Linked DNA regions of Homo sapiens: regions 1 and 2 are each linked to region 3. The links are contacts of gene promoters, found by promoter capture Hi-C in blood cells and fetal thymus (Javierre and others, 2016). All regions are on one chromosome and are shown on one strand. The core of a region is centred on a gene start or on the middle of the fragment in contact, and the rest is flanking DNA. Distances in the headings are between cores, read along the strand shown.

Region 1 (2,700 bases), core at 181-2,680, 4.1 Mb before region 3:
AAAAGACATTATTCCCCTTAGGCTAATCAGGCTTTACCCATTAGCCTTTCCTGAGCTTTCTGGAAGGCAAATTTCCTGTATCATGCACACATACAAAATAAGGAAATCAGAAACTTGGCAGCCCCCAAGAACTTCCAGACAATTTAAGATACTTGGTTTTCTACAGCATGTGGTAGGGGTGCAGTGGGGTTGGGTGATACTGTCACCAATAACCCCATGAAAGCCTGATGTGCAGCCCATTGTCCTCAGTGACATGTGAGACTGAAACTAAAAGGTGCTCACAGAATGGGTAATAAGCAGGGAGTGCCCACACAGAAACACTGACTACATTCAGTGAATCCCTGACTCCTGACAAGTGTGCTGCAAACCTGCTCACACTTAAGCTTCTACCTTGAAAATAGGGCACTCTCATGGGACAGTTGCAGTGCTTCCCTAAATGACTTAGACTTCCCTGAACTTCATAAGGCATCAAAATTGCTACAATTTTCCAAATATCATCTTTCTCCTCAAAGATATGGTTTTTGACAATAAATCCTAGCTTTTTATTCAATCGAAATTTAGTGAATACACACTGAGTGCCAGGCATGCTACTAGGCACCAGGAATACAAAAATACATAAATAAAACAAGGCCCCAGCATATACCCTGGTATGTCTGAGGTGTAGGGCAAAAGCACTGGCCATGGATCAAACTGGCTTTGTGTCTCAGCTTTCCTACTCATTAGAAATGGTGCCTTGAATACCCTGAATAATTCCCATGGTCTTGAGCCTCAGCTTTCTAAACTGAGGAAAACAAAAAGCCAGAGGTAGTTGTGTCTGCTTCATATGTGATGACTGAATACAAACATTTGTGAAAGCAACTAGCTATATATTTCTAGGCTGCACCATGTTGTGACTTCATGAAGGGAAAGGAAGGGATCATCCCTAACCTCATCAAAGAAGTCTGGTGGAAAGCAGCCCTGAAAGGAAAGAACCTGAGGATAAGGATACGTAAAGCTGACATGAGGCCATACTCCCCCTCCCCGTCTACTCACTATTGCTGGGTCCCTGCCTGGGCTGTTTTCTGTCATTAGGCTGAGCACAGTGGTTCATACCTGGAATCCCGGCACTTTGGGAGGCTGAGGTGGGAGGATCACTTGAGCCCAGGAGTTCAAGACCAGCCTGGGCAACATAGCGAGACTTCATCTCTACAAAAAATTTTAAAAATTATCTGGGCGTGGTGGCATGCACCCGTAGTCCCAGCTACATGTGAGCCTGAGACAAGAAGATTGCTTGAGCCTGGGAGGTCTATGCTACAGTGAGCCATGATCATGTCACTGCACTCTGGCCTGGGCAACAGAGCAAAACCCTGTCTCAAAAAAAAAAAAAAAAGTGGTTTGCAGCCCCAAACTTCCTGCTTAGATAAGTCTTGCTTCACAGAACCTGCAATGGAGACAGGAATGCCTCTCTGAGGAAGAGAAACAGGGAAGGTATAGCATAGTAGCATAGGGTGCTATCTTGAAGTAATGCAGATTTTTCAACCAAGAGCTCATTTTTAAATCAGAACCTGGAAGAATGAGATGATTTATATAGCAGATGATTAATCTCTGTCTTCAAGCAATCAGCAGAATAAGTCAGTGAAACATCTCATATATTCTCCTTTCTGATTTTCCCACAAACAAGACCATCTCAAATTTGAAATCAACATTTTACAATCCATTTACTATATATTTTGTTGCTTTTGTTGTTAATGCTAGAAGCATGCCCTGTTTTTTTGGAAGAGTGTTTATGCAAGGGTTGGCCATATTCATAAACATTCATAGTGTTTATCTACGTAGGGTTGGCTTTGGAATTGTGGAAATTATCCACACTGTAGACACCATCTGAATGACTACAGCAAGAGGACCAGTTTTTCCAGCCAGCCACTTTAGTCCCTCCCAGTTCTACTAGCCTGCAAGAGAGTAGCCTTGTAGGAACTATCTCTGCAACCTGAGAACTTGAGAACTAAATGCTCGGTTGACTCTGAAGCCCGACTCAGTACTTTGTTATCCAGTGCTCTCTCTTTTACACGAATAATCAACTGAAATAAATGAAGTAGCTTTGACATAATGTGAAAAGCCTGGCAAAGGAGAGTGAACTGAGAATTCGGCAATGCCTGAAATCAGAACTAATCATCTCAAAATCATCTTAAAATATATTTTAAGTGGCTCAGGCTACATTCTGGTACATTGTACATGATTCTTTATGTAACACATTTTTCTTTCATGGTTTGTTTCAAGAACCATGACCTAACTCAGAGATTTCCTGTCTTTCCTTGACATCACAGTGCTATATGAAGTTGACACTGTCAGCAAAGAGTAACTTAGGATACATCTGTTGAATGTATCATCTTATTTCCAAAAGAAGTTTTACTGTCTGTGAGAGTCATGATCTCTTTTTTTATCTCAAATGAAAAGGCAATTGATGTTTAAAGTGATATGGATAAGTGGTATAAGCTTAAAATTTGCTTCTGTTAACATTTTAAAGTGTTTTCAAAATGAAATTTTTTTTTTAACTTTAAAAAGAAAGACTGCTGTTGAAACCCTGTCTCTACTAAAAATACAAAAATTAGCTGGGTGTGGTGGCACACACCTGTAGTCCCAGCTACTTGGGAGGCTGAGACAGGAGAATCACTTGAACCTGGGAAGTGGAGGTTGCAGTGAGCCAAGATCACGCCACTGCAC
Region 2 (2,700 bases), core at 131-2,630, 4.7 Mb after region 3:
TTTTCAAAAAGGATATGCCAGTGATGATTATAGTCTTTAACAGCAGTAGCTTGTGAGAGTATTAAAATGTTTCTTCTTTTATAATTCATTCTACGTTAAAAAAATGAATTAAAATGTATGCAAAGTGTACTTTTTCAAGTCAGTGAAGAATATGGCCAGAAGCAGCAGTTTACATTAGCTTTATAACTTAATACTATAAGCTTTAACATTGACCTATTTAAATGAATTTTTGTTATTAAAAATGCACCTCAAGTATATAATTAAAATATTTACCCTTAAATAAAACTATAGTAATTTTGGAAACATCTGTCATGTATTATGTATGACACTTCTGTCAACAGTGATTGGAATATGTGTCCCCTCTGTTTGAAGCTAGGTAAGCTTTTGTGATGAATAAATACTGTGATGGTGTTGCTGGATTTCTACCTGTTCCCGTCTCTGTTGGGACACGAGAGTCCTAAACTACCATGTAAAAGATCTGCCTACTCGGTGGTTGCCATAGTAATGAGTAATCACACACACAGAAATGTTGGAGAAGCTCCAGCTTTGAATCTTCCCAGCCTAGACATCAACGAGACTTGTCAATGAACAAGCCTTCAGATGATTTCAGCCCCAGCCCCAGCCCCATTTGACTGCAGCCACATGGGAGACCCCGGTTGAGCCCTGGAACCATGAGCCATAATGAAAGGTGTTACCATTTTAAGTCAAGTTTTAGGGTGATCATCTTATACAGCAGTAGATAATCAGAACATGTATGCATATACCATACCTGTTTTGTTGAAGAAGGAATTTTGTTTTGTGTTCTGGACCAGATTTTATATATATCACATAGCCCAGTCATTAGCAAGAGGGTTGGGGCAGGCAGGTTTTATTAAAGTCCAATAGTTATAAGGAAGGAGAGTCTTCTTACAGGTTGAAAAACTCATAGAAGATTCAAATGTCCTGCTTTTCCTTTCCCCAAAACTGACCTTTTTTAAGTGCCTCTTATCAGAGGTGAAGAATCTTGAACTCAGAAAGACTGGGAATTTCCTGATACCTAAATGCAAGCTATAACCTGCATTTCCTTAACCTCCAAGACTTTTCCCCTTGTATATTATATTCCAGTGTATATATAAGGAGTTTCAGTGATGGAGAAAAGTACTTAAAATTTGGTCATTTGTATTATATCAGGGGTTGGCAAAACTCTTTGTAAAGGGCCAAATAGACTTTGTGGGCTGTAAGTGTTCTCTGACATATTCTTTGCTTTTTTTTTTTTCTTGTTAATAAGCGCCTTAAAAACGTAAAAACCATTCTTGCAGGCCATTCTAAATAGGCAATGGGCCATGTTTATCCTGTAGGTTTTAGTTTGCCAGTTTGTGGTAAAACCACACAGTTTATTGATGTTATGGACTATAATACGGATAAAAGTGTGTACATCATTTAAGTGAGGGTGTTATAGTTGATTTTGAATATTTCAGTAGATTTTAAATGTTGTAATGTTAAAGATATAGAGCTTTCTGGTGCACTAATTTGAAATTTATGTTCTAGTATATATGCCCTTTTAATATTTTGCATTTGTGTTCTTTATACTTTGGTTAAAGTTGCTTTTATTGTTCCCCATCTGATTTAACTGTCAATTTCTAAAGCCGGAACTTCATACTAATATCCATTTGTTACTAGACAAGTGTATTTGGTCAACTGGAACATTTGAGCTTCTCTTTCTTTATCTGCAAAGTAATGAATGATTAAACATGCTCTATTTTATATGATTTGTATATATGATATATTTTAAAAGTGATAAAATTTTAAAAGTGACAAAGTATTTTTAAAAAGTAGTAAGCATTGGTTAATATTTGTTGTCTTGAAAAAGGTTGTAGGTGCTTTCTAAAACTACAACCAGTATCTGAATTTGAATTCGTTAAAACTTTAAAACAGTAATACCCCTTTTTATAGGAAAACCAGGCTTTAAGTGTGTTTGAAACTTAAATTTATTTAAATTAACATTCTGCAAAATTATTTCATTCTGTATTAAATTTAGCATGTCTAAAGTATATAATATAAATGTTCAGGGTTCGGGGATGATATTTCTGAATAAGATCTAGTGATTTTATGAAAAGATTTGTATAGCATTATTTGCCTGTTTCATTGTGATAGTCTTGAAATTTTTTCTTTTTGTCTTCTACAAATGTATTTGATTCTGTGAAGACCTGTTGGATCTACTTTTTTACTGATTAGTGAGCTTTGACCCAGTACTTATTAAACATCTGTAAAACATTGATTTACTTCTATCAGACTATTTTTTTTATAATTTAGAGTCCGAAAATGGTGTTTGCCACCATTCAGATCTTGAAGAAATTTTTCTTAGCAAAAACATGAATCTAGATGATGAGAGAAGCTTTTTTGTTTGACATATCTTGATTTTAAATAAGATTTTTTAAAAGTAAACAAAAATAAAAACCCATATAGCCTGTTTTCATTTTAGAAAAATGATAGAAAGTACATATCAGCATTGGTACCACCCAAAATGATCAATTTTGCTATTCCAGACATAGTAATTTTCAGATATCTTTAGATTGTGTCTGTTTCCAAATGTAAAGGAAAATGATATCTTTTCCATTTCCTATGTAACCTTATCGTTTGTATTAACTATTCTCTTCAGTCACAGATTTCTTTCCCACTTTGGGGAAAATTTGAATCCCATTTAACCTGTTTATAGCCCCC
Region 3 (2,700 bases), core at 180-2,679:
GATGATTTTTGTATTTGTTGTAGAGATGAGGTCTTGCCATGTTGCCAAGGCTGATCTCTAACTTCTGCCCTTAAGGTATCCTCCCATCTTGGCCTCCCAAAGTGCTGGGATTACAGGCGTGATCCACTGTGTCTAGCAAAAATAACTTTAAAATTCTGTTCAGATTATGAACAGCTGAACAGTAGTCAGTAGCAACTGATGGCTTTTTTGTTAGCTTAATAAATGGATAAAGAAATAGATTGGTAGGTTTTTCTTTTAGAAAAAGTTTATATATAGTGTGTGTTGTGCTGTGTGTTTAAACACATTTAAAAATTCATGTATAGATTTATCAGTCAGTTTGGAAAGCAGATGAATTCCAGAATCCTGAGAAAGTTATCGTAGGGTACCCTTGGTTAGGTGCACAGTGAAGGGCAAACAATAGCTGGCGTTTGACATTACCCAACATTGTTGGAGGCTTCTTTTCCTAAGTAAGTAAATAAATAAATAAATAAAAATCAAGGTTTACTCCTCACAACATATTTTAGTCTGTAGTCTAGGGGTGACCCTTCGGTGAGGAAACTCCTCCACAACATTCCATTTTGTTGTTTCCAGGAACACAAAAGTTAAAACTATATAGTCCATGTAGATTCAACGTATTCCTTTAAACCAGAAGACAGCCAGTGCTGCTGTTCAGGCTCTTTAAAGCTTATATAGGATACAAGTAAACTCAAGGAATTCACCGTACTGCCAGTGATAGTTTCCCTTAAATAAAGAGATGATACTTTTACTATAAGATTTTTGCTGCTATTTATCATGGAAGACAAAACACCGAAGAAATTCAGTTTGCAGTTGGTGGTCCAAATACTAACTGGAACAGATGGGCCAATTAAATCTACAAGAGACTGAACTATCCCTCGTGCTTAACACTCAGAGTCAGCAAGAAACATGCGTCTCTCTACAAGCAGGTACTTTAGCAACGTGTGACTCTTGAGTATGATAATCTATCGTAATCGCTAACGGAAGCAATCAGGTGCACGTAAAGAGGTTGGGGATCAGCTTCTGGTCACAAAAAACCGAGCAAGGATAATTCCACTACAAATGACTATTAGCTTTAGTGAAAAAGAATGGTAAGTTACACGGTGTAGATGAACTTTACAAGGCGAGAGCTCCCTAAAGAACACCCAGCCTGGCGGAGGGCAGCAGGCTCCACCCATGTCTCTGCAGTTTTGGTCCGGCCTCGGACTAACTACACCCTAGCAGCGGGAAACTTTCGCGTGTGCGCAGTAGGCCTGTCCAGTGCCGCGTGGGAAAGGCGGGACTTTCCTATCTCTTGCGTCACATCCACTGCGACGCAAGACGTCACCGGCTTGACTGGGAAGGTCAATCGCGGCTGCAGGCAGGCGCGCATGCGCTTTATGCCCGCTGTTGCTGGCGCGTGCGCGTATCAGCCTTGGCTGGCCGGTGTATGTCCGCTGGATTGTGAGGCCCGGGATCTGGGCTCCGCCGTGGTGCAGAAATGCTGTGCCGGCTCGGCGGTCGGTGGCTGCGGCCGCTCCCTGCCCTGCAGCTTTGGGCTAGGGACCTGCCGCTTGCGCCGGTTCCTACGAGCGGCGCCAAGCGCCCCACTCTCCCAGTGTGGGCAGTGGCACCAGTCTCTGCAGTACATGCGAACGGCTGGTACGAGGCCCTGGCCGCGTCTTCGCCGGTGCGGGTTGCGGAGGAAGTACTGCTCGGCGTGCACGCCGCCACGGGCCTGCCCTGGTGGGGCAGCATTCTGCTCTCCACCGTGGCCTTACGGGGTGCTGTCACGCTGCCTTTGGCAGCCTACCAGCACTACATCCTGGCCAAGGTGAGGGGCGCCGAGCCGTGCGCGTACCCTGCGCTGCAACCCCTGCGGCGGAGGAAGGCCGACATTCACTCAGGGTTTTCGATCGCACGATGTTGCCTTCTGCAGTGCTTAGTGTTTAATCATCGTGACCATTTCATTGTGACCATTTTAGCGTTAAAAAAAATTGAACTAGCATTAGGTGTGTTAAATAAGATACTTTGTGACACGTGTACCTGTCATTTCTTTTGTCTTACTGGATTTGTGCTCCAAGCACAAGTGGTTACTATACTTGCTCTCGGGGAACGGAGACAAAGAAATCAGTCGCAGAAGAAATTGTGTTGGCGAAACCTACAAAATTTATGTCTTAAAAGTTTTAATAGCCAGTATGTCTGCAGTGTCTTTCGTCCCAAAGTATTCCAGCTGGTCTTTCTTATTAGGAAGAAACTACTAGACTAACAGTTTGCGAACTTGTTTCCTCTCCAGACCCGACTAAGACTGTGTCTGGTTGGTCGCAGTTACTTGACCTTTTAATGCTGAATCCTTTTTTCTGAGGAATCAGGCTAGCAGTACCTTCCTTGCCTACTTCACAGCGTTATCAGAGCAAGTCAGATAATACGGGTTAAAGTGCTTGATTATTCAAATGGGATATTTCAAAAATAGTGGCTTTCTTGTTTTCAGGTTGTGAGCATGGGGAAAAAAAACCGGAAACAAAACAGGAACGGAATCAGCAGCAACATTAAGGCAGTGAGCCATTTTACAGGAAGAATGAGCACAGGGCAGGAATAAATGCTATTTTTACTTTTGATTTGTGGCTATCACAGTGTATTAAAGGTTCTTAACAAACTGCTGTTTTCTCCGCTTACGTTACTAGGAAATGTAGAGATGGAACAGTA

What was found. The method cuts DNA at HindIII sites, captures the fragments that hold promoters and counts their contacts. A CHiCAGO score of 5 or more calls a contact.
Region 1: a contact is called between a fragment that was not itself captured here and the fragment with the promoter of COX18 in region 3, in 1 of 17 cell types (non-activated CD4 T cells). The highest score is 7.1, in non-activated CD4 T cells.
Region 2: a fragment that was not itself captured here is called in contact with the fragment with the promoter of COX18 in region 3 in 1 of 17 cell types (total CD4 T cells); the score reaches 6.1 in total CD4 T cells.

The regions. Positions count from the first base shown.
Region 1 is chr4:77,151,853-77,154,552 of GRCh38, reverse strand. No RefSeq gene overlaps it. Among named protein-coding and RNA genes, the nearest start is that of CCNG2, 4.0 kb to the left of the region's middle. RefSeq lists a silencer at 130-199 and an enhancer at 1,910-1,959. The HindIII fragment of the contact is 2,089 bases long and covers 386-2,474 here.
Region 2 is chr4:68,340,143-68,342,842 of GRCh38, reverse strand. All of the region lies in intron 1 of YTHDC1 (YTH N6-methyladenosine RNA binding protein C1), which reads left to right. Among named protein-coding and RNA genes, the nearest start is that of YTHDC1, 8.6 kb to the left of the region's middle. The HindIII fragment of the contact is 1,993 bases long and covers 384-2,376 here.
Region 3 is chr4:73,068,445-73,071,144 of GRCh38, reverse strand. It overlaps COX18 (cytochrome c oxidase assembly factor COX18), which reads left to right and starts at 1,429. Exons shown (of 6, transcript NM_001297732.2): 1 at 1,429-1,828. The coding sequence starts at 1,496. It overlaps LOC112268467 (a long non-coding RNA gene), which reads right to left and starts at 1,199. Exons shown (of 2, transcript XR_002959797.2): 1 at 1,116-1,199. RefSeq lists enhancers at 1,078-1,594, 1,141-1,660, 1,595-2,110. The HindIII fragment of the contact is 3,732 bases long and covers 687-2,700 here.